Regions from separate parts of the Homo sapiens genome. Here regions 2 and 3 are each linked to region 1. Evidence: promoter capture Hi-C in 16 types of primary human blood cells and fetal thymus (Javierre and others, 2016). All regions are on one chromosome and are shown on one strand. The core of a region is centred on a gene start or on the middle of the fragment in contact, and the rest is flanking DNA. Distances in the headings are between cores, read along the strand shown.

Region 1 (3,581 bases), core at 385-2,884:
CCTGAGGTCAGGAGTTCAAGACCAGCCTGCCCAACATGGTGAAACCCCATCTCTACAAAAATTAGCTGAGCATGATGGCAGGTGCCTGTAATCCCAACTACTTGGGAGGCTGAAGTGAGAAAATAGCTTGAACCCAGGAGGCGGGGTTGCAGTGAGCCAAGATCACACTATTGCATTCCAGCCTGGGCGACAGAGCTTTTGTCTAAAAAAAAAAAAAGAAAAAAAATCCTGATTAAGCAGAAGCCTTGATGCTAGTCCCAGAAGCATCCTGAAATTTCCAAAAGAAATTTCCCCCGCGGTTAAACTCAGAGCAACTTTTGGACCCACCAAGCTCTGTGAAAATCATTTTCTCTTCCAAAAACTGATGGGACCAAAGCTGATCCCAGTTTCAAATAATTATCAAAAAATTGGAAACGAAATATGATCAGAAAAGAAGAAAGTTGAAAAAGAAAATCCTCATCACCCAAAGACAACAACCATTAATATTTTGGTAATTATTATTCCAAATATCTTTCTATGCATACAGACAGACTCACACACACACACACACACACACACACACACTTTTTTTTTTTTTTTTGAAACTGAGTTTCACTCTGTCGCCCAGGCTGGAGTGCAGTGGCGCGATCTCGGCTCACTGCAACCTCCGCCTCCTGGGTTCAAGCGATTCTCCTGCCTCAGCCTCCCTGATAGCTGGGATTACAGGTGAATGCCACCACGCCCGGCTGATTTTCTGTATTTTTAGTAGAGACGGGGTTTCACCATGTTGGCCAGGCTTGTCTCCAACTCCTGACCTCAGGCGATCCACCCGCCTCACCCTCCCAAAGTGCTGGGATTACAGGCGTGAGCCACCGCGCCCGGCTACACACACACTTTTTTAATGGGCCTATGTTTTAGCACTCGCTTTTCTGTTTCTCAGTGTGTTGCAAACACCTCGGTGTCGATACACACCATTCGGCAACGTCCTCCTAAAGGGCCGCATAATATTGCGCGTCGTGGCGTGTGCCTTACTGGGAAGCTACTGCTGTCCAGGTGAACACCACAGCCTTCGGGGTCAGAAAGACAGCTTTCCCCAGAACAAGCACCTGAAGCTCTGGGGCCTGCCGCTCCCCGGGAGAGAAGTACGTGGAGAAGGGCAGCACGGATCCGCCGGGATCCCCGGGGGCATTAAAGGGAATCGCGTGTGTAAGGCGCGGAGCTCAGCATCCGGCTCAGAAACGCGCTCGGATCCCGCCAATGGCATTGAGGCCGCGTAGCCAAACCGGCCTTGAACTCTCCCTAATCCTGCCAAAATGGCCCGTCCTGGAGCACTGGACTGGCCGTGGGTTATTGATCATCAGCCGGTTTCTTCCCCTCCCCTGCCCTTCCCCCGTGCACGGATTTACTGATTTTTTTTTCCGGGAATTGAGTAAAACAAAACTAAGTGCAGATGAAGCAGAGGTACGGGCGAGTTTCGAGCGCGGGGACCGGCGCGCTCCCCCCCCCCCCTCCCCCCGCGGCGGGGCTGTCCCCAGGGACCTTCTCAGTGAATCCTAGGCGGCAGGGACGGGCCCGCGGCTCTGCGGGCCATTGGCTGCCGACTGCGTCACCTGCCCGCGGTGGGCTAGGAGACGGGAGGCGGGAGGCGGGAGGCGGGGACCTGGGCCCGGGCGGGGACGCCGCGGCAGGAAGGCCATGGCGGGGCCCGAGCGCTGGGGCCCCCTGCTCCTGTGCCTGCTGCAGGCCGCTCCAGGTAAGGGCGCGGGGCCGCGGGAGGGAGGGGGAAGAGGGCTCCCCGGGCCGGGCCGCGCCTACCCTCGGACCCGGAGCTCCTGGGACAGGCACGGGGTCCGCAGCCACCCGAGCCGGGTGCGAATCGGCCCTGCCTACGCGCCCCCAGTTTGCTTCTTCCCAGGACTGAACAGAACCGGGTCTTTGATATTCCTCTCCCGCAGGAAACGAATCCAGTTTCCTAATGCTTCCAGCTTCAGGAGAACTGGAGAAAAAAGACAGCGGCAGTTTGATACTGCATATTTTTTAATAAAGTGCTTTTTAATGTTTCCTAAAGAAAGCACTGATCCCTGCGTGAAAACCACACTTGACCCTAAAGTGTGGACAGCAGGGAAAGTGGGACCGATTGATGTCCCTTCCCGTTCCTGCCAGGCCTCTGGTGGGACGGAGCTCTGGTCGCCTGTGCCCTGCTTTCTAACAAGACGGCTTTCTTTTGGTGGTGGTTGTTGTTTTGTTGTTGTTTTGTTGTTGTTGTTGTTGTTGTTGTTTTCCCACCTCTACTGATGAGTAAGGTGTCAGGTACAAAATTCCTCGCCGTAGGACCCAACCACCAAACCTCACCGCCCACGACTCCAACCGAAGCAGGGAAGAGAAGGTCCAGAAATCGCCCCCAGGATATTTTCCTAGTCTTGGACTCACAGTTTAAAGAGCTGTAAAGGTCCCTGGGCATAATCCAATCATCATAAAAGCCTATATTTATTCAGCAACTTCTTTGTGCCAGGCACCGCATTATTCTGGAAGCCTCACGACCCAGCCATCCTCGGAGGTAGATATTATTTTTACTTTTCCGATGGGAAAACTGAGGCTCAGAGCAATTCAGGGAATTCCTCAAGAAGGATGGCAGAGGTGAGGCACACAGAAGAGAGAAGAGGGGCTAAAGCAAGCCTGGCTAGCTTTTGCCTCCAGGGTAGGCACGTGGGACAGGCTGTCCATCCACTGGGTCACTAGGCCAGCCAGGGATGCTCCAGCCCCCAGTGCCCACAGCAGCGTTCTCTGTGGCTGATGAGGGACCGTGTACCTGTGTGTGGAGGGAGGGTGGGGTCTTCTGTTCCCCTTTCACTGTCAAACCCAGACCTTCTTGTACTTTCACCTGATAAGTATTTAATATACACAACACTAACTATGGTGTGATGATTTAGGAGTAAGTACAGCCAGATCTAAGTTCAAATACTGGCTCCCACACAAACTGACTGTGTAGCCTCAGGCAAGTTAGTTAGCATCTGTCTCTGAGCCTAGCGCCCTTTCCATGGAAGCAGAATGAATGACACCTACCCCATAGGGTGGTCTGTCCCAAGGGTGATTGAGGTTTTACATGTAAAGAGCCAAACTAGTGCCTGGCATCCTTTGAAGGCTTCATAGAGGAAAGTTGCTCTAACTGCTGTTTTTCTCATGTGACCTAGCTCGAATCTGGGGACTGTCCTGCCCATAGGATACCTTACAAGTGGCTTGCAGACAGCCTGGTCTCCTGCTGGTCACCCGTTAGGAAGTCCAGAAGCTGGGAGTAGTAATAGCACTAGCCTCGTGGTGATACAGTCCCAGCTAGAGGACACAGGATGAGGTGGAAGCAGGCACCCACTTTTGGGTCTAGAAGGTGATGGGTAGGCAGCCGAGGCTGGGGACAGCCATCCACAGAACTGGACCCTCCCTCCCTGATGCCATTTTGCAACCCGTATGGATTTCCATCATGGCACATGGGACACTTCAGGACCCTGAATTCTCCATGGGACCATGAGCTCCTATAGGGCAGGAATGAAGTTGTGTTCTTCTTTGAAACCCCTGGCACACCGTGGTCAACAGATCTTGTTTGACTC
Region 2 (3,581 bases), core at 337-2,836, 210 kb before region 1:
TTTTCTTATTTATAGGGATTCTTTATTCTAGAAACAAGTCATTTGTTAGCTGTAGGTAAATGTCATCCCTTATCCTGGGACTTTCCTTTTCACTCTCTTAACAATGTGCTAAGACACAGAAACTCTTGATTTTAATATAGCCCAATTTATCAGTCTCTTTATGTTTAGTGTACATGTCTATTTTATTAATACTTAAGAAATCTTTGCCCATCCCAAGATAGTTTCTTCTAGAAACTCTATTATTTTACCTTTTACATCTAGATCTACAATTCACTTGAAATTGTTTTTGATTGAGGAAGATGCCCGAGTCTGTTGTTTTCCATGTTGACCCAGCACCATTTATTGAAAGGCTGCTCATTCTCTACTACTCTGTATTGCTGTTGCTACCTTTGTCATAAATCAAGTGTCCAGGCATATGCAGCTCTGCTTCTTGATTATTTATTCTGTTCAAATATCATACTGTCCTAATTACTGTAACTTTATAATAACTCTTTAGTAGCATAAGCCCTTCAACTTTGTACTTCTTTGTTTATGCTGGCTATTCTTGACCCCAGTGCATTTCCATATAAATTTATTTTACTTTTTTATTTTTAATTTTTATGGATACATAATAGTTGTACATATTTATGGTGCACACATGATATTTTGATACAAGAATATAATGTGCGATGATCAAATCTGGGTAGCTATACAAATTTTACAATCAGCTTATTAATGTCTTAAAAAAACTCTACTCTCATTTTAATTTGGATTGCATTGATTCTAGAAATCAATTTAAGGATAATTTACATCTTTACAATAAATATTAACTTCTCTAATCCATGTATAGATCCTTTTATTTAAGTTACCTTAAATTGTTCTCAATGTTTTGGAGTTTTCTATGTAGAAGTCTTGCATATCTTCATTATATCTATTGTAGGCATTTGATTTTTATGCTGTTATAAATGGTAATTTTAAATTTTATTTTAAATTGTTTGTTGCTGCTGTACAAAAAAATTAATTGATTTTTGTATATTGACCTTGATTCTGGTGACCTCACTAAATCCAACTATTACCTCTTATAGGGTGTCCACAGATTATTTTGCAATTTCCCCATACACAATCTTGTAATCTGTGAAAATGACAACTTTATTTCTTCCTTTCTCATCCATATATTTTATGTATTTTTAATATATTTTATGTAGGCGTTTGTATTGGCTAGAGACCTTCAGTACAACGTTGAATAGAAGGATAATAGCAGTTGTACTAGTTTCACTCCCTGTCTCAAGGGAAAGCCTTTAATATTTCACAATTTGGTATCCTGTTTGCTATAGGCTTTTGTTATAGACACCTTTTATCAGATTAACAAAGTTTGCTCCTATTCCTAGTTTGCTAGAGTTTTTCTTTTAATCATCAAAGGATATTAGATCTTATGAAAAGCTTTTTCTGTATCTACTAAACAGTTACTTCACCAAAAAAAAGATATACAGAGGGAAAATAGCATATGAAGGACTGCTTAGCATCATTAGTCATTAGGGAAATGCAAATTAAAACCATAATGAGATACCATTACATACCTAATGGGATGCCTGAGATTAAAAAGACTTCCCATTGCTGATAAGAATGTGAAGTCATAGAAATTTTCATACGCTAATAGTGGGGATGTGCAAAAGTACAACGACTATGAAAAATAGTTTGACAGTTTTTTAAAAAGTTAAACATATGATCTAGTCATTCCACTCCTAGGCATTTACCCCGCAAAATGAAAGCTTATGTCCATTTAAAGACTTGTAGATAAAATGCTCATAGCAGTTTTATTTGTAATGCCCCCAAACTGGCGACAACTCAAATTTACATCACCAGTGAATAAACATCATGTTTTTATACAATGGAATATTACTCAACAATAAAAAGCAATGGAGTATTGATATATCAGCAACAGAGATGAATCTCATAGTAATTATGCTGAGTGAAAGAAGCCAGACAAAAAGAGTACATGTTACAGGTATATGATTTTTTTAATCTGTTGAGATACTCGTATGGTTTTTCTTTTTTAGTCCGTTAATATGATGAATTATATTGATTTTTAAATATTAAACTATTTTTGCATTACTGGGGTTGGTCACGATGTATTATCTTTTTATATATTGTCTGGTTTGATTCGCTAAAATTTTTCTAAGGATTTATGTATTTATGTTTATGAGGGCTGCTGACCTCTAGTGATCTTTTTCCCTCTTGTAATGATGCCATATAGTTTTGGTATCAGGTAGTGGTTGCCTCATTGAATGAGTTTGGAAATGTCTTTTCCTCTTCAGTTTTCTGGGACAGCTTGTATGGAATTGATAGGTGGAGTGTTCTATAAATGCCAATTAGGTCAGGTTAGGTAATAGTTTTGTTCAGGTTTCATATATCTTTACTGATCTATCTACTTGTTTAAATTATCGAGGGAGATGTTTTGAGATCTCTGACTATAATTGTGAAATTTTCTATTTTTTCTCGCAGTTTTATCAGTTTCTGCTTCTTATATTTTCAATCTCTTTTTATTGGGTACATCAGCATTTAGGACTGTTATGTTCTCTTGAGGAGCTGACTGCTCATAATGACCCCATTATGAAATGACCCTCTTTATTGCAGGTAATATTTTTTGCTCTGAAATCTACTTTATCTGATAATATCTAACTATCTTTTGATTAGTGTTAGCATAGTAAATCTTTTTCCATTATTTTACTTTTAACTTATTTCTGAGTTTATATTTCAAGTATGTTTCTCCAAGGTAACATATAGTTGGGTCTTTCTTTCTTATCCAATCTGAGAATCTCTGTTTTTTAATTGGGATATTTAGATTATTTACATTTAATGTGATTATTGGTGTATAAGTTTAAGTCTATCATCTTGTGACTTGCTTTCTATTCGTCCCATCTGTTCTTTATTTACCTTTTCTCTGTCTCTTGTATTATTTTTAATGCTTCAATTTTATCTCCTTTGTTAGCCTATTAGGAATAACTCCTTGTAGTATTTTCCTAGTGGTTACCTTAAAGCAACAGTTGGCAAACTTTGCTCCTTGGACCAAATCTGACCCACTGCCTATTTCTATTAATAAAGTTTTATTGGAACACGGCCACCCCAGTTTGTTTATGTATTGTCTGTGGCTGCTTTTACTCCATAATGGCAGCACTGAATAGTTGCCACAGAGAATAAATAGACTGCAAAGACTAAAATATTTACTATCTAGCCAGGCATGGTGGCTCACACTTGCAATCCCAGAACTTTGGGAGGCTGAGGCAGGAGGATTGCTTAAGCCCAGGAGGTCAAGGCTGCAATGAACTATGACTGCACCACTGCACTCCAACCTGGGCAACAGAGCAAGACCCTGTCTCAAAATATAGATCAATAAGATAGATAGATGATAGATAGATAGATAGATAGATAGATAGCTATAGATGGATAGATAGATAGACAGATATGTACTATCTGGCCCTTAGAAAAAGTTCGTTGATCCCTACATACTTTAGAGTTTATAGTATATATCTTTAACTTATCATGGTCTACCATCAAGTGATATTATAACACTTCACATATAGTAGAAGAACCTTAAAACAGTA
Region 3 (3,581 bases), core at 455-2,954, 190 kb before region 1:
CTTTGAGCTGCTCAGGCTTCCCCCTCTCCTCCCTTTCACAAATATGGGAATTTGTATTTATAGTTATGTTACACTCAGGTATAAGCACTTAAGGTCCTGTACCTGGGGATGGGTGCCTGAAGTGGTCGATGGCGATCTATTAGGAGATCTCTGCGTTTTACCTCATTCCCGTGTGAACTGGATGAGAATTTCATATCCCCCACCCCACCGCCTCTTTCAGTAACTTTCACCTTTAGCACCTCCTCCGCTTCTGCATCCCAAGACTTAGAGGGAATTAAAAGTAGCTCTCATCAGAGAAAGATCAGAATGACCAGTAGGAATGTGATTATGGGTGAGGCTGACCAAAAAACTCTGTGGGTCTATAAATTTTAGAAACTTCCTCATGACTGTTGAAACAACTACACCCAACCTTTTGAGAGACCTGTCATCTCTCTAAGTCTGAATGATATAAAGAGCTTTATTAGTATATTCCAAATCTTTGCTCCAGAATCTTCCACAGGACTGACTAGGAGAAGTGTATGAGGCAGGTGGGTGGAGAGTTTGATGGCCTCTCTGTATTTGCATGCTGGCAGGAGTGGCTCTAGAAAAGTTAGTAGGTGCTGGAGAGAAGTTCATAAATGCCGGCATTTGGCCAGATTGGAGGCCACAGGCCTGGCAAGTAAACCAAGGGGTGTGTAGTGTTGGTGAGTGAGTGTTACTGTAGCCACATTCTGAGACTAATTCTATTACGATACTTTATAAAACATTGCCTCTACTGGGACTTTTTTGGGAAGAAGTTTTTTCATTTTCAAAATGTAAGTTGTAGGTGTTCTAAACCAAAAAAGAGTCTATGATTGAATGGGCTTGCTGTTATCCCAGAGCCATGTCGCTCAACCCTTTCCCCTTTAGAATGGGCTCTCTGATCCATGTCATGTAGTGGAGGCTGACTGCTTGGGTAGGAATGCTGGTCCTCCGCCTGAATTAGCTGGGGAAGTTCAGCTTCCTCATCTGTAAAGTAGAGATAATCATAAGATCCACTGCTCAGGGTTGTCCTGAGGATTCAACACAAAAACCCACCAAAGGTATTGGTTAACTCTTGGCCAGAATGAAAAAGATGAAGCACGTTCAAAGCTGGGGTGACCTTACTTCTAGGAGCATCAGCAAATCCTTACACACTGCATGTAGCCACTTCTTATTAGAATTCGAGTTTGGCAGAGTTGGATACTCAAGGAACAGATCAGCGTTGGAGTTAACTTCCCATTACTGAAGAGGCTGGGGTTGAGCTGGGGCTTGAACCCAGGTTAGGCTCTGAACAACTTAGGCTCTGGACAAGAACACTCCCGCTTCTGGTGCTACACCCCCCCAAATGCTAGTGGGGGTCCATAAACCAGACGCTGAGGACCGTCACCACCAAGCACAGAGTGAAGTAGGGGGGCCCTAATGCCTTCCTTTTGGCTCACCCACTTTCTGTGTTTGTGTAGTTATTGATTCCTATCAAGTGAGAAAATCCAGGGCAATGTTCTCAAGCTTTTGACCATTAAATAGTGGGAAATTTTTTGTTTTATCAGACTCCAATACTTGCCATGCTATCTTAGGGGAAAGTGATGTTATCACTGAGTTTCTGTGACTTTTGTCCCTGTTCTTTTGACAAACATTGATTCTGTTTGTTTTTTAACTGAAGATAATTTATCGTGGCTTCCTGAAAGGGTGGGATTGGTTCTGTTAAACCGTGAAAATACTGTAGGATTTGATGAAAACAGTAATTTGGTGGAGGGTAGGAGGCACAGATGGACAACAAGCCCCCTGGAGCTTTGTTTGAAGCAAACTCGTTGCTTAGGCAGTTCAGATCATTTAACCTTAGAAACAAGATGTGAGATTTTACTCAGAAGAAAAGCCTAGGCTGAGAAGAGCATCTAAAGCTTCCTATCACATAAATTACCCAACAGCTGATGAGTCAAGGGTAAGTGGCCTGGAACAGGATTGGGTGGAAATGCATTTATGGCAAAATCATTTTTGCCAAGTCCCAAACAGAAGATGAATAATTTGAGTTAGTTTACAGAAGCGAGTACAGGTCTGAACTTGCGTTTTCCAAGGGAAGATCCTCAAAGCCTGAGGTCAGTTTATCATTGTTACTGCCAGAGTTTCGCCTTTTATAAAATGCATTTAGACCTTGTGCTGGTCACCATCTTTTTGACATCTGTCCTTCAGATCCACAATATTATGTGACAATGCTGATTCCTTTGGTTGTCTCCTTACAGTGCGCCCGATTGGACACCATCATTTCTAAATACCCTGCAGCGAATGCATACACTATCCCATCGGATTTTATTTCCAAGAGAGACTTTAGTAATTCGTGTTCCAGCATGTTCCAGTTGCCAAGCTTTATGAAAGCTCTCAAGTTTGAAACTCCTGCACCAAACTATTACAATGTAAGAACTCTGCCTATGCTTGCTAAATACAGATCGAATTAATGGTTTACTAAAATAAAAGGAAGAGGGGATCTTGGGGACATCGTATTTTAATGCAGTTGTCAAGCCAGTTAGCATTTGTTGACTACCCAATGGGTGCCTAAGGCTGTACAAGACTCTTACAGGGAATTTGCAGACCCCAGAGATCAGGATGGGCAACATGGAGGCCAGTATCAAGCTGTGGGGAGGCCACTGCCCTGAGAAACACATATTCTAATTACTCTTGTCCTGTAACCTTTCTGGGACGTAGTTTTCTCATCTGTAACAATGGGTGTATTATTTACCACTTTGTCTGCAGCCACTAATGATTTACTTTTTAGGTTCTTCTAGGGAAAATAAACTTTCATATCAGAAAATAGGTGTTTTAACAGTCGTGCCCTGCTGTGCCAATTATGATCGCTTTGTATTCACTGACGCAGAATGGCATGGATGGTTAAGAGATGGACTCAGGAAGGTTTGGTTTAGCTCTCATCTGTTGCCACTTTCTAACTGTGCGGCCTTCGGCAAGTCCCTTAACCTTTCCAGGGCTTAGTTTACTGATCTGTAAAATGGTGATGTATGTTCACCTCATCGTGTTAATGCAAATATTAAATGAGATAATGTATGCTTCATGCCCAGGACAGCACCAGTCACACAAGGACCACACAATACATGGAGATTGGTAGGGCTGTCTTTGTTAGTACATGAAGGGTATTTACTTACCCTTAAATACAAGCAAGTAAGTAAGTCACAGCCCCCACTGTACAATGGAATCAATTCTACTTGCCCTACAGGGTTACCATAAGGCAACGAACGTGAAAGCACTCTGAAGTGCGCAAGATATGAATTGTACTTAAGACATTAATGTTATGCCATTTTCCAAACTATTTTGGTTTTATACATTTATTATACCATTTCCTTTTTTCCTTCATAATATTGATAATTAATAATTATTTTTCTGACTACAAAAATCCTGCCCACCTTCTATGATGGATTCAAGCTTTTTTTTGAGACGGAGTCTTGCTCTGTTGCCCAGGCTGGAGAGCAGTGGTGCAATCTGCAGGCTCCACCTCCTGGGTTCACACCATTCTCCTGCCTCAGCCTCCCAAGTTGCTGGGACTACAGGCACCCGCCACCACACCCGGCTAATTTTTT

What was found. Contacts are between HindIII fragments. The CHiCAGO score rates a contact against its expected background, and 5 or more counts as called.
Region 2: a fragment that was not itself captured here is called in contact with the fragment with the promoter of IFNLR1 in region 1 in 12 of 17 cell types (megakaryocytes, total B cells, monocytes and 9 more); the score reaches 9.3 in megakaryocytes.
Region 3: a fragment that was not itself captured here is called in contact with the fragment with the promoter of IFNLR1 in region 1 in 3 of 17 cell types (megakaryocytes, monocytes and M2 macrophages); the score reaches 5.6 in megakaryocytes.

Annotation. Positions count from the first base shown.
Region 1 is chr1:24,185,342-24,188,922 of GRCh38, reverse strand. It overlaps IFNLR1 (interferon lambda receptor 1), which reads left to right and starts at 1,634. Exons shown (of 7, transcript NM_170743.4): 1 at 1,634-1,732. The coding sequence starts at 1,675. RefSeq lists a silencer at 1,372-1,861. The HindIII fragment of the contact is 11,665 bases long and covers 1-3,581 here.
Region 2 is chr1:24,396,103-24,399,683 of GRCh38, reverse strand. The region is part of intron 2 of STPG1 (sperm tail PG-rich repeat containing 1); the gene reads left to right. Among named protein-coding and RNA genes, the nearest start is that of STPG1, 16 kb to the left of the region's middle. The HindIII fragment of the contact is 329 bases long and covers 1,422-1,750 here.
Region 3 is chr1:24,378,480-24,382,060 of GRCh38, reverse strand. It overlaps STPG1 (sperm tail PG-rich repeat containing 1), which reads left to right. Exons shown (of 9, transcript NM_001199013.2): 5 at 2,238-2,408. Among named protein-coding and RNA genes, the nearest start is that of STPG1, 34 kb to the left of the region's middle. The HindIII fragment of the contact is 392 bases long and covers 1,509-1,900 here.